Regions from separate parts of the Homo sapiens genome. Here all the other regions are linked to region 2. The links are contacts of gene promoters, found by promoter capture Hi-C in blood cells and fetal thymus (Javierre and others, 2016). All regions are on one chromosome and are shown on one strand. Each heading gives the region's core, a stretch centred on a gene start or on the middle of the fragment in contact. The rest is flanking DNA. Distances are from core to core; before and after follow the strand shown. Region 1 holds the start of SFXN4 (sideroflexin 4). Region 2 has its middle 23 kb from the start of RGS10. Region 3 holds the start of GRK5 (G protein-coupled receptor kinase 5).

What was found. Contacts are between HindIII fragments. The CHiCAGO score rates a contact against its expected background, and 5 or more counts as called.
Region 1: the fragment with the promoter of SFXN4 here is called in contact with a fragment that was not itself captured in region 2 in 13 of 17 cell types (fetal thymus, naive CD8 T cells, endothelial precursors and 10 more); the score reaches 7.9 in fetal thymus.
Region 3: a contact is called between the fragment with the promoter of GRK5 here and a fragment that was not itself captured in region 2, in 5 of 17 cell types (naive CD4 T cells, naive CD8 T cells, non-activated CD4 T cells and 2 more). The highest score is 6.9, in naive CD4 T cells.

Annotation. Positions count from the first base shown.
Region 1 is chr10:119,164,399-119,168,856 of GRCh38, reverse strand. It overlaps SFXN4 (sideroflexin 4), which reads left to right and starts at 3,143. Exons shown (of 14, transcript NM_213649.2): 1 at 3,143-3,320. The coding sequence starts at 3,210. PRDX3 (peroxiredoxin 3) reads left to right here. Exons shown (of 7, transcript NM_006793.5): 7 at 324-1,137. The coding sequence ends at 377. RefSeq lists silencers at 2,995-3,464, 3,506-3,692. The HindIII fragment of the contact is 6,667 bases long and covers 739-4,458 here.
Region 2 is chr10:119,563,991-119,568,385 of GRCh38, reverse strand. No RefSeq gene overlaps it. Among named protein-coding and RNA genes, the nearest start is that of RGS10, 23 kb to the right of the region's middle. The HindIII fragment of the contact is 6,245 bases long and covers 1-4,395 here.
Region 3 is chr10:119,204,938-119,209,546 of GRCh38, reverse strand. GRK5 (G protein-coupled receptor kinase 5) reads right to left here and starts at 1,976. Exons shown (of 16, transcript NM_005308.3): 1 at 1,578-1,976. The coding sequence starts at 1,629. It overlaps GRK5-IT1 (GRK5 intronic transcript 1), which reads right to left and starts at 1,126. Exons shown (of 2, transcript NR_186528.1): 1 at 897-1,126. RefSeq lists silencers at 1,550-1,599, 1,650-1,719, 1,930-2,759 and enhancers at 3,100-3,209, 3,230-3,279, 3,390-3,469. The HindIII fragment of the contact is 5,116 bases long and covers 1-4,595 here.

The DNA of each region.
Region 1 (4,458 bases), core at 1,894-4,393, 400 kb after region 2:
GGACTACAGGGCGCCCACCACCACGGCTAATTTTTTGAATTTTAGTAGAGACGGGGTTTCACCGTGTTAGCCAGGATGGTCTGGATCTCCTGACCTCGTGATCCACCCGCCTTGGCCTCCCAAAGTGCTGGGATTACCGGCGTGAGCCACCGTGCCCGGCCTAGAGACAGGCAGGCCTTAATGAAACTTTCATCTTTATGTTTTAAAGGAAATCTTTAAAAGTTTAAAGAACTTTAGGTTAAAAATTGGGAGATTGCCACTCACTTTTGGGACTATTATTATGGTAAAGTCACAGTTACCTAATTAAGCTTTTGTATTTTCAGATCAAGCCAAGTCCAGCTGCTTCCAAAGAGTACTTTCAGAAGGTAAATCAGTAGATCACCCATGTGTATCTGCACCTTCTCAACTGAGAGAAGAACCACAGTTGAAACCTGCTTTTATCATTTTCAAGATGGTTATTTGTAGAAGGCAAGGAACCAATTATGCTTGTATTCATAAGTATTACTCTAAATGTTTTGTTTTTGTAATTCTGGCTAAGACCTTTTAAACATGGTTAGTTGCTAGTACAAGGAATCCTTTATTGGTAACATCTTGGTGGCTGGCTAGCTAGTTTCTACAGAACATAATTTGCCTCTATAGAAGGCTATTCTTAGATCATGTCTCAATGGAAACACTCTTCTTTCTTAGCCTTACTTGAATCTTGCCTATAATAAAGTAGAGCAACACACATTGAAAGCTTCTGATCAACGGTCCTGAAATTTTCATCTTGAATGTCTTTGTATTAAACTGAATTTTCTTTTAAGCTAACAAAGATCATAATTTTCAATGATTAGCCGTGTAACTCCTGCAATGAATGTTTATGTGATTGAAGCAAATGTGAATCGTATTATTTTAAAAAGTGGCAGAGTGACTTAACTGATCATGCATGATCCCTCATCCCTGAAATTGAGTTTATGTAGTCATTTTACTTATTTTATTCATTAGCTAACTTTGTCTATGTATATTTCTAGATATTGATTAGTGTAATCGATTATAAAGGATATTTATCAAATCCAGGGATTGCATTTTGAAATTATAATTATTTTCTTTGCTGAAGTATTCATTGTAAAACATACAAAATAAACATATTTTAAAACATTTGCATTTTACCACCAGTAACTGTTGGATCAGCTTATTTTGGGCTCTCCTTTCCTTCTCAGATTATCAACAAACATTTATTGAGCATTTACCTCAGGGGCCACAAAGAGAATAAGATGCTGGTTCCGCACTCAAGGAACTCGGTTTAGGGGCAAGACAGATAGGGAAACATTTTCTCGTTGTTTCAGTAAATCCTTGAGTGCCTACCCCGCACCAGGTGCTGTTTTCCAGGCACAAGAGCGAACAACGGACAAACCCCTGCTTTTAAGCTCTTACATTCTAGAGGGGAAACACCTCATACATGTAGTAAAAGTAGAGTGTTTGGAAGGAAAATAATGTGGAGTGAAACTGCTGAAGCGGAGTTGTAGGTGTTCTAGATGGGGTTGTCAAGGAAGGCCTTAAGGGAGAGCCTCTCTGGATCAATTTTCTCATTGTAAAATGAGGACAATAATTGTACTTATCTCAGGGTTTTGATGAGCATCGAGGGAGAGAAAACGCGTAGAAAGTGAGAGTATTACGGGGATAAGAGACTTCTAGGCAGAGGGCAGGGAAAACACAAAGGCCGTGAGGCAAGAGTGGGCTCAGAGCGGATGCAGATTTACTAGGAGGCCGGTGACTATGGCTGTGGTGGGGGTCCCAGAGTGCCTTTTGGCCAGGCCAAGGACTTTAGGTTCTGTTCTGGGGTGGGGAATGTCAGGAAGGATTTGAAAAGAAGAGTGACATCAACTTGTTCTAAGAGAATCACTCTGGCTCCTTTGTTAAGACGACATAGCAGTCCAAAGTGGGGAAGCAGGCCAGCGGGCTGGCTTTGTGACATCCTGGAGGGTAGAGACAACAGAATAGAACAGCACGCTACATACTGCACTGGTGCTTAGATGGATTTCTGCGGCATAAGGGTAGAAGTGGAGGGGGCACCTTACTCAACTCGGAGGGTCAGGGAAGGCTTCCTGGAAGAGGAGATAAACCCCTGGAGGTTAAGAAAAGTGAGCTAGGCAAACTGAGCAAATACAGAAGCAGAGTCATACAGGCCTGAAGGACGCCATGAGCCAATTTCCTGTTCCTGGAGGCGCAGGGCAAGGGAAGGAATTGGCCCGCTGGAGGTTAATGGCCAATACTGAGCACTTCTGAGGGCTCAGTGCTGTGTTAGGGATGTTTTATCTCCTTTGATCAGAAACAAAACCCTGAGATAGGTACAATTGTTATCCTCATTTTGCGGATGGGAAAATAGACTTCGAGATACTGACTTGGCGAGGGTCACACAACTAGATGATGTGCTGGGTCCCCCAGTCCTGGACTCCGGAGGCCCCCTGAACGACCTAGGCACACTTGTGGCTTCCGTGAATTTAAGTGCACACAGCCCCCGCCTGGCCCTGTGCTGGGGAAGGGCAGGTGGGAGGAGGAAGGGAAGGCAGGTTTTTCTTTACAAATGGTACCTATTTGGTAGTCAACAAAAGGAACTGGATTTGCCCCAACACTGGAAGAAAAAAAAAAACAACCTGTTGGGCTGAGGGATAGTGCACTGTGCCCAGGGCCCTATACTTGGTTTGATGCTCTGGTGTTACTCTCTTGAAATTCTCAGTAACATGAATAAGGGGCACCGCATTTGACATTTTCCCTGGGCTGAGACCATGATGCAGCCGGCCTGACTGCGCAACACCATGCACACTGGAATTCGTGGGCCATCGGAGGGATTTTCGAGGGTAATGACCAGGGGTAGGGCGCGGCAGAAGCGCAGGGTGAGGTTGCGGACGGCCTCACTCACAACCTTTCCGGGTCTTCGCATTAGGTACTGTGATGACGGGTTCCGATAGTGACCCCTTGGGGCCTGGAGACGGCCCGGCTCCCCAAAGGTGCGGAGCAGGGCAAGCAGGGTTGGGAGGACGTGGCCCGTGGGAGAGCTGCGCTCGCCGGAACAGTGGGCGCGCAAGGGCCCCGAGGCGCTGTGACACGGGACGTCGGGCGCGCGGGCCTGGGGCGGGAACTGCGGGTGCGCGCGGCCCGGGGCGGGGCTCGCCGCCCGGCTCCTCCTCCACGCGCGGCCTGGCGGCGGCGGCCACTCTAACCAGCGCAAAATGTCCCTGGAACAGGAGGAGGAAACGCAACCTGGGCGGCTCCTAGGACGCAGAGACGCCGTCCCCGCCTTCATTGAGCCCAACGTGCGCTTCTGGATCACCGAGCGCCAAGTACGGCCCGGGCCCGGCGCGACTAGGGGCAGGGAGGGGGCGGGCCGGGCCGCGTGGAGTCGGGCTGACCCGGGTGACCTTGGCCAGGCCACGTGGGCGCCCCCTGTCTCCGTTTCCTCCTCTCGGAGTTGTGCCGGGAACGCGCACCACCGGCCTTCACCCCTTAGGGCGCGGCAGGGGACGCAGGGGAAATCGAAGCTGCCAGATGCCCACGACCACAACGTCACCCTCCAGATTGCCCTCTCGGAGGGGCCCAGTCCGCGCAGGTGGCTGCTCCCTACTGCCTGAGCTGTGGCTGAGCAGCAGATTGGGGAGAAACAGGCTCTCGCACCTTGGTAAGCTCAGCCACTTTCGGTGAGACCCCCGAGGCTTTGGGAAGCCACCCTTGGGCAGGACATAAGCAGGACTTATCTCCCTGCAGCGTCTAGGGCAGCACCGTCCAATAGAAATATGATGTGAGCCTTACAGGTAATTAAACATTTTCTAGTAGCCACATTAAACAAGATAAAAACAGCTGAAATTTTTAACAATACAGTACATTTAGCCTAGCAGGTGCAAAATATTAACATTTCAACATGTAATCAGTAAAAAACATTGCTGAGATATTTTACTCGCTTTTTTGGTACAGAGTGTTCCAAATCCGGCGTCTGTTACCTTCACAGCACATCTGGGTTCAGCCGCATGTGGCGAATTGGAGAGCAGGGCTTTAGGGGGTTCTCTTTGAGGCCTCTCCTAAAGTGGGGTCCAGCCCTGTTTTTTTTTTAGGTGGGGAAATTGAGAAGGGGCGGTGAGCTCAGGTTGCTCCAGCAGAGCCAAGGCTTAAAGCCAGAACCACTACAAAGTTTAGAGTTTGCTGGAGCAAACCTCTTTTTCCCCAGTGTGACCCCAGCTGCACCATTGAGCCCTTAATGGGGCGTCCATCCTTTGTCACTGGAGTGAAGCCTTATAGCAAGCAGAGAGTGAGGCCACAGACTCTTGAGATATTCTAGGCCATTGCTTCGAGGTCGTATGTGAGATATGAACGTAAGACCATTTGAACCCCCAAAGTCTGGGATTTTAACCCTCAAGGGCAATTTGATACTGAGAGGTTAAGGGCACAGACTTCTGAATCATTTCCTGGCTGTGTTGCCTTGAGTAC
Region 2 (4,395 bases), core at 520-3,019:
TCCACATTTCTTATACCCAGGGATATATTTTATTTTTTAAAAATGGATAACTTCATTCCTTGGTTGAAGCTCCCCGAAGGCAGGGACTTGGTTTGTTAACTACACAAATTCTAGTACTTGTAACAGTTCTTGGCATGTGGTAGGTGTTCAGTAAATGTTAAATACATTAATATGATAAGAGGAAATGAAAGTAAACATGTATTTTATTTAGTCTCCCTCTTGAAACCAGAACATTACCTCGTGTTCTATTTGAGTAGAACTTGATCAGAATTGGTGGGGTGCTTGTGAAAAGGTAGATTCTGAGACTCTGCAGTTGTGGGTGAAGGTAGTCTGAAATAAAATTAATTGGCCTGGCGGGGCGCCGGTGGCTCACGCCTGAAATCCCAGCACTTACGGAGGCCGAGGCAGGTGGATCACTTGAAGCCAGGAGTTCGATACCTGCCTGGCCAACATGGCACAACCGCATCTCTACTGAAGATACAAAAATTAGCTGAGCATAGTGGTGCATGCCTGTAGTCCCAGCTACTCGGGAGGCTGAGGCACGACAATTGCTTGAACCTGAGAGGCAGAGGTTGCAGTGAGCTGAGATTGTGCCACTGTACTTCAGCCTGAGCAACAGAGCGAGACTCTGTCTCAAAAAATAAATAAATAAATCGGGGCCGAGCGTGGTGGCTCACACCTGTAATTCCAGCACTTTGGGAGGCCGAGGTGGGTGGATCACCTGAGGTCAGGAGTTCGAGACCAGCCTGGCCAACATGGTGAAACCCCGTCTCTACTGAAAATACAAAAAACTAGCCAGGCATGATGGTGTATGCCTGTAATCCCAGCTACTCGGGAGACAGATGGAAGAATTGCTTGAATCTGGGAGGTGGAGTTTGCAGTGAGCTGAGATTGTGTCACTGCACTCCAGCCTGGGCAACAGGGCGAGACTCCGTCTCAAAAAAAAAAAAAAAAAAAAAAAAAAAAAATTGGCTGAGTGTGGTGGCTCATGCCTGTAATCCCAGCACTTTGGGAGGCCAAGGCAAGCAGATCACTTGAGTCCAGGAGTTCAAGACCAGCCTGGCCAAAATGGCGAAACCCTGTCTCTACTAAAAATACAAAAATTAGCTGGACATGGTGGCACATACCTGCAGTCCCAGCTACTCTAGAGGCTGAGGCAGGAGAATTGCCTGAACCTTGGAGTTGGAGGTTTCAATGAGCTGAGATCACACCACTGCACTCCAGCCTGGGTAACAAAGCGAGACTCCCTCTCAAAAATAAATAAAAAAGTAATTAAAATTAAATTAATTGGCCTAGATTTCTTTTTTCTTCCTGGCTTGGGAGATTAAAACTACTAGCCATGGTTACACATTTTTCACAAAAACTAGGTGTTTTTCTTTTTTTCAAAAGTACAGATTTTTTAAAATCTAGGTTTTTTTGTAGTTAATGTTATCCATTACTGCTATGCAATGTAGTTTGCCAAGCATCTTTCAGCAGTGGTCAGGGCTGGCCACAGTGGCTCACACTTGTAATCCAGCACTTTGGGAAACTGAGGTGGGAGGATTGCTTGAGGCCAGGAGTTCAAGGCCAGTCTGGACAATGTAGTGAGACCCTGTCTCAAAAACAAAACAAAAAAAACCCAGGCATGGTGGCATGCCCCTGTGGGTCCCATCTACTTGGGAGGCTGAGGTGGGAAGATTGTTTGAGCTCAGGATTTCAAGGCTGCAGTGAGCCCTGGTTGTGCCACTGCACTCCAGCCTGGACGACAGAGCGAGACCCTGTCTCAAAACAACAAGAACAAAGATGATTAGGATGCACTCCTAATGGGAATGTGCTGGGTGTGTGCCAGGTAGGAACCATAACTACTTCTGCATATCACTCCAAGAATGTGGGTGATCCTGGGCCATGTTTTAGGAAGAGGGGCTGCTAGCACAGCAGAACTGGGTTTCTGGACAGGCAACATCTGAGTATAACAGACAAAAATGGAACTAGCCATGGGAAGTGACACAGTTGAGATTCTTGAAGTGGAAAAAATATATATATATATAGCACAGACATCTGAAGTCAGCTTGTGCTTCAGCATATTTGCTGATAAACTAGTTGGATTAGAAAGAAGTTTCTTAATTGTTTAAGTGAGAATAAGACAAATTATAAAAGACTTGTAGCAATCCTAGGAAAACAGTAGGCAATTTGAGTGTTGACATTTGACTGTTTGATGTTCCCCATGTGAAGGCACAATTAAAGTAGTATGTTATTTAGAATTTGGTTTGCCCTTTTTGGGGGGCTGGAGTGCAGTGGTGTGATTATGGCTCATTACTGCCTTGATATTCTGGGCCCAAGCAATCCTCCCAGTGCAGCCTCCCAAGTAGCTGGGACTACAAATGTGCACCATCGTGCCCAGCTTTTATTTATTTTTTGTAGAGACAGAGTCTCAATATGTTGCCCAGGCTAGTCTTGAACTCCTGGGCTCAAGCAGTCCTCGTGTCTCAGCCTCCCAAAGTGTTGGAAATACAGGTGTAAGCCACCATGCCTGGCCAGTTTGCCCTTGTATCATGAAGGATAAATGTTTCTTGAGTGGCTTATATATTGTTTCTATTTGTTTGTTTGTTTTTTAGACACAGTCTCCCTTTGTTGCCCAGGCTGGACTGCAGTGGTATGCGATCTCGGCTCACTGCAGCCTCCGCCTCCTGGGTTCAAGCGATTCTCCTGCCTCAGCCTCCCAAGTAGCTGGGATTACAGGCACCTGACACCACGCCTGGCTAATTTTTGTATTTTTAGTAGAGATAGGGTTTCACCATATTGGCCAGGCTGGTCTTGAACTCCTGACCTCAAGTGATCCACCCACCTCAGCCTCTTTCAAAGTGTTAGGATTACAGGTGTGAGCCACGGCACCTGGCCGTATATTTTGTATTCCTAATCTGGTTAGGTCTTAAATTAGTACCGGGATTCTATTTGTGCTGTCAAATACGAAAGTTTTAATTTTTAATATACCTGGAAGTTACCTACATTCATTCGCAGCTATATATAGGCTTACTGAAATTTACTCTTTCAAGAAAATGCTTCGTTTTGACATTAGATTTGCTGATGATTGTATTATATTTACTAAAGTGGTTACAAAATGGAAAATTGGAAACGAACAAAAAACATAAATGGATCACTTTATGGTTCTTCTTACCCTAGTCTAAACCAACATCTAACCAGGCATGGTGGCTCACGCCTTTGGGAGGCCAAGGCAGGCAGATCTCTTGAGGTCAGGAGTTCAAGACCAGCCTGGCCGTCATGGTGAAACCCCATCTCTACTAAAAATACAAAAATTAGCCAAGACTGGTGGTGCACACCTGTAATCCCAGCTACTCGGGAGGCTGAGGCAGGAGAATCGCTTGAACTGAGGAGGTGGAAGTTGCAGTGAACCGAGATCATGCCACTTCACTGCAGCCTAGGCAACAGAGCGAGACTCTGTCTCAAAAACAAAACAAAAAAAACCCAATATCTTCCTTCATCCAGACTACTGCAGTATCTTCCCATCTGGCCTCTACCATATATATACTTGAAAAATTAAAATATTACACAGAAAAGTATACGTCATATGTGTACAGCTCTGAATTTTCTTTGCTTTTTTTTTTTTTTTTTGAGACAGAGTCTCACTCTGTTGCCCAGACTGGAGTGCAGTGGTGCTATCTCGGCTCACTGCAACCTTCACCTCCCGGGTTCCAGCAGTTCTCCTGCCTCAGCCTCCCAAGTAGCTGGGACTACAGGTGCACGCTGCCACACCCAGCTAATTTTTTTGTATTTTAGTAGAGATGGGGTTTCACCTTGTTGCTCAGGCAATCCACCTGCCTCAGCCTCCCAAAGTACTGGGATTACAGGCGTGAGCCACCACCCCGGCCTGAATTTTCATAAAGTGAACACACTCATGTGAATGGTAGCCAGATCCAGGAAATATGACCATTGCCATTACCCTGCAAGCCTCATGCTCTGTCCTAGTCTCTAACCTCCACTCTTCCCCAAGATAACCACTCACTGATTTATATGACCACAGATTAGTTTGTCTATTTTGTAACTATATAGATGGAGTTAAGCAGTATATGTTCTTTTGTATCCAGCTTACTTGATACTGTGAGTTTCATTCGCGTGTGTGTGTGTGTGTGTGTGTGTGTGTGTGTGTAGCTGAGTTTTTCAATGATATGGTATGATATTCTATTATGTGAATGTGCTACAATTGATCCATTCTTTTTTTTTTTTTTTTTTTGAGATGCAGTCTTGCTCTTGTTATCCAGGCTGGAGTGCAATGGTGTCATCTCAGCTCACTGCAGCCTCCAGCTCCCAGGTTCGAGCGATTTTCCTGCCTCAGCCTCCCAAGTAGCTGGGATTACAGGTGCCTGCCACTGCACCCAGCAAATTTTTGTATTTTTAGTA
Region 3 (4,609 bases), core at 727-3,226, 360 kb after region 2:
TAGATCCTGTCCACTAAAAATGTCAGGTTAGGAAAAAAAAAAAAAAAAAAAAAAAAAAACCACACACACACACACAGCTCAGGCCTTAGAACCTGAAGTCACCAAGTAACAAGCCTCTCCTAAAAATTTATTCCCACCAAAGCTAAGCAATGGGAGGGAGACTAACCTGAATATTTTAAACTCTGCTGGGGTTTTCAAAGCACTGCCTCCCTTCGGGGCTTCTGAAATAAACCTTCTTGCCCACTGGCTGCTTTAGAGTGACAAGTGACGACGAAAGTAAGACACGAATGCCGGGTTGAGTTGCTGAAACGCTGCCCACGGAAGGCTATGCATCACCTACCCCCACAGTGTGTAGGGAGCCACAAGGTGATGGAACGGGCTGAATAAACACGAATCGTTTTATTGCTGGCCAGAAATTCTTCCCTTCATTCATCAAAGTAGGTGAATGAAAATATTAAGCAGGTAAGACATTTTCATGGGCTGCTCACCGAGTATCCTTCTAAACTCAAGCCCTTACTCAGTCTGCCTTCTACCTTGTATCAAATAAAGCGTTCTCCCGTGAAAGGGAAAAACCTCTTCCCCTTTTATGAAAAAGGTCGCACACTAGAGCTCAAATCTTGACCAGAAAAAAAAAAGGAAAATATGCGACATAAATTCCAGGTATTCCTAAATACATATGTTTACATGGACACAACACAATCATTTCAGGAAGCACCCAAGTTTCTGCCTCCCCCCCCTTTTTTCTGTTTTTCATCAAAAGGAAGAGTCAAAATATGCGTTCTTAGGGTTTGACTCAGGATCTTACACACTCCATTTAGACAATATTTCCTGCCAGCTAAATGCAGGAAATCTAATGATTTGCATAGAAAACGTATCTAAAGCACCAGCACACTTACCTTTCTTTTCTTAACTGAGCCAAAATCTAACAATTTCAGTTATCACACTCCCAGAAAAGAAAAACCTGAAATACTGAATTATTTTCTAGGTGGTCTGTACAGCCATCCTTTGATAATTCTATGAAAAGGCTAATTCCTCAACATCTGACTTTGCCTTTAAAAGGCTTCCTTCCACACGACGGGATTTCCCTAAGAAACATCCCAGCGGATGGTTTCCAGCAATAGTCTATATCAACTCAGCCTGCGCAGGCAAAGACTTGGCTTCTGCTCATTCCACCCCCGCCCCTCGAACACACACACCAGTTCACACAGAACCATCCCGGGCCGACTTGAAACGCTATTTTATGTGCATGTTTGCTCGTCGCTCCCCGAATGAATGCTTTTCCAACTGACCTTTCAACAGCTGCCGAGATGGCACGCTCTGCAGGGCGAGCGCTGGAAACTAGGAGATATGTTAGCATCCAAATCCCTGCAACCTTCTCAGCCCAAGTCCAGATTCTCTGAGCCCCAAGGCAGGAACCCTGAAGGGTCTGCAGAGCCGCTCTCCGAAGTGTCCTGCTCGCGACCCACTCGCCGGCAGCGGGCATCCTGCACGGGCGCAGCCCCAGCCCGCACGCCACCCGACACCCGCACCCTGGCCCGCGGCGGACGCGCCGGGCACGTACCGGCCCTGCCTCTTACCTTCCCTGGCTTTCAGCAAGACCGTGTTGGCCACGATGTTTTCCAGCTCCATTGACAGTCGGCGGTCAGCAACGGAGCCGGCCGGCGGGGCTGTCAGCGCCTGGGGTGCTGCCGCTGCTGCTGCCGCTGCTCGGGCTGCCGCCGCTGCTGCCGGAGCCGGGGGAGCCAGCAGCCCGCCTTGCCTACCGCATTATTCCTGCTCTCAGCCCAAGAGTTTCCCCCTCTGCAAAGAGGAGCCGCCGCCGCCGCCGCCGCCGCCGCCGCTTCTTCCTCCCTCTGTGTCCCCCCTCCCCCCTCCCTCAACACGCTCCCCCCCACCCCCCACCCTCCGCGTGTCTCTGTCACTCCATTCTCCTCCCCTCCGGCTCCCTCGGATGCTTTAATGCCTCGGATGCTTCTGCCTCCCCTCAGTCCCTCCCGGGGGTGTGGTACTAGCAGGCTCGGGCGGCCGCACTGCGCAAGCGCCGGCCCAGGCGCGCCTCCTGCCTCGGTGCTCGCGGCGCGGGGCCTGCTGGGAGCTGGAGTCCTCCCGGCCGCGCGGCGCCGGGGCTGAGCTGGGCTGGCGCGCGGCTGTCGGAGCGAGGACCCGCCCCGGGACGGCACCGAAAGCGAAGGCGGGCACCGCCCGGCCGACAGGCGACTCAAAGGCGGCCCAGCCAAGCCGAAGTCCCCAGCACCCCCCCGCAGGCTCCCGCTTGCCCCCTTCCCGCCCCGTCGCCAGCCCGGAAAGCGGAGTGCACGGGCCCCGGTGACGGCGCGTGAAGCGCCGCGGCCCGGCAGGAGCCAGTGCGGGTCCCGAGCCGTGCTCGGAGTGGGAGGGCTGCCAGCTCGGCCGCGCGCCACAGCCCGCTTCCTCCGGTCCGCGCCAGGCCCGCGAGGGTCTGAGTCCCGGGTCAGTGACGCGCGCCCAGGGTCCCCGCACGCGGCGGCGGCCGGCCCGGCCTGGCCCCTGCCCAGCGTCTCCCACGCGGCGCCTCGGGCCGCGGACAAAGATGCACTTTGTTTCCTCGGAGGGCGCGAAGGGCTCTGCGGGTCGGCTGCGACCCGGCGCTGGCTGCCCGCGCTGCTCTCGGTGCGACCCGAGCGCCCCCCGCCGGCCGCGGTGCGCGGCGCGGGGTCTACGCGGACGGCGCCTGGGGCTCAGGGTCCAGCGTGGGAAGCTGCTTATTCTGTGAATAAACTGCCTTCCAGCACACCCGGCCAGCAAATCCACGAGCCTCCCTGCAGCCAAACCCAGCCAGATTAAGTAATAAAAACGCAGACGGAGTCGCCGGAGTCTCCGCCGTGGGGAGCGTTAATGAGTAACAGCCAGGCCAGCGCCAAGCCGGCGTGGGATTAACGTTTTTAAATTCCGGTCTTATTTATTTTGGGGCTCTTAGCTCCTTCCAGTGTTATGCTCAGAACATCAGACTCCAGGTCTGTGCTCAGCCCCGTTTCCTTGCTCCCTCCGCTCCGAAGGCCCCACTCCTGGAAATGGGCTGTCTTCGGTCACCCGGGATCTGCCACGAGTGTCCTACAGCTGGGGGCGGGGCAGGCAGGCCCCAAAGAACAATGAGGCCTTTGCCTCCTCTGCATCCTGCGGGCCGGATATCCGTTCAGAAGCCGACTCTGGGCCTTCTCTGTCCAGAAGGAGGAAACCCTCTGTCCCCAGGGCTGCCAGGAAGTCGCAGGGAGGTGCCGAGAGAAACAGAGAACAGTTATTATGCATTGGAGAATATAAAGAAATCAATAAACCTTCCAGGCCTTGGAAACTGGTCTGGTCACTGATTGTAACAACCCAAGATTACCTGCTTTCCTGGGGGAGTATACCCACCACCACCACTTCCTGGTGTCTAGACTTGGGTCAGTGAGTCTCCCAGGGCCTCATTTATCTTGTCTGCAAAATGGGGGCAACAACAGTTTACCTGTCAGAAGGCGGAGGGCTCAGCGGGTAACTTTTCAGGCACTTACCACTCCAGGAATTACTGTTCTAAGCAATCCAGGCTTGGTCTTTGCTACATATTCACGTGCCTAGAGCCCTAACCTTTAATGAAAGGATCTCTCTCAGACAGCGAGACCCCTAAAGCTGGCAGCTCCTAGAGCCCTCCACCAACCACGCTGGTCACTTGCTGGCAGCATAGGGCCTGATGAAGCCCGAAGTTTGTTTATTCGGCTAACATAAAAAAAAAAAGAAAGAAAATTTTTGAATGCCTTTAGATGGCTTATGCACCTTAACAATTTTCTTGGGCCGGGCGCGGTGGCTTACGCCTGTAATCCCAGCACTTTGGGAGGCCGAGGCGGGAGGATCACGAGGTCAGGAGATCGAGACCATCCTGGCTAACAGTGAAACCCTGTCTCTACTAAAAATACAAAAAAAAAATAGCCGGGCGTGGTGTTGGGCTCCTGTAGTCCCAGCTATTCAGGAGGCTGAGGCAGGAGAATGGCGTGAACCCGGGAGACGGAGGTTGCAATGAGCCGAGATCGCGCCACTGCACTCCAGCCTGGGCGACAGAGCGAGACTCCGAACCAAAAAAAAAAAAAAAAAAAAAAAACAATTTTCTCAAAGGTTGTTTTTGTTTGTTTTTTTGTTTTGTTTTGTTTTGAGACAGTTACTCTGTCACCCAGGCTGGAGTGCAGTGGCCCAATCTCGGCTCACTGCAACCTCGGCCTCCCAGGTTCAAATGATTCTTGTACTTCAGCCTCCCAAGTAGCTGGGATTACAGGTGTGTGCCACCATGACTGGCTAATTTTTGTATTTTGAGTAGAGACGGGGTTTCGCCATAATGGCCAGGCTGGTCTTGAACTCCTGGACTCAAGTGATCCAACCCGCCTCTGCCTCCCAAAGTGCTGGAATTACAGGCATAAGCCACCATGCCTGGCTCAAAGTTTCATGAGCATACAAATCACGGGGGATCTTGTTAAAATGCAGATTGCATTTGGATAGATCTGGGGTGGTTTCTGAGATGTTGCTCTTTCTAACAAACTCCAGGGCTCTGTCGATCCTCGTGGTCAGTAGACCACACTCAGAGTTGAAAAGCTTTCTAGTTTACCGT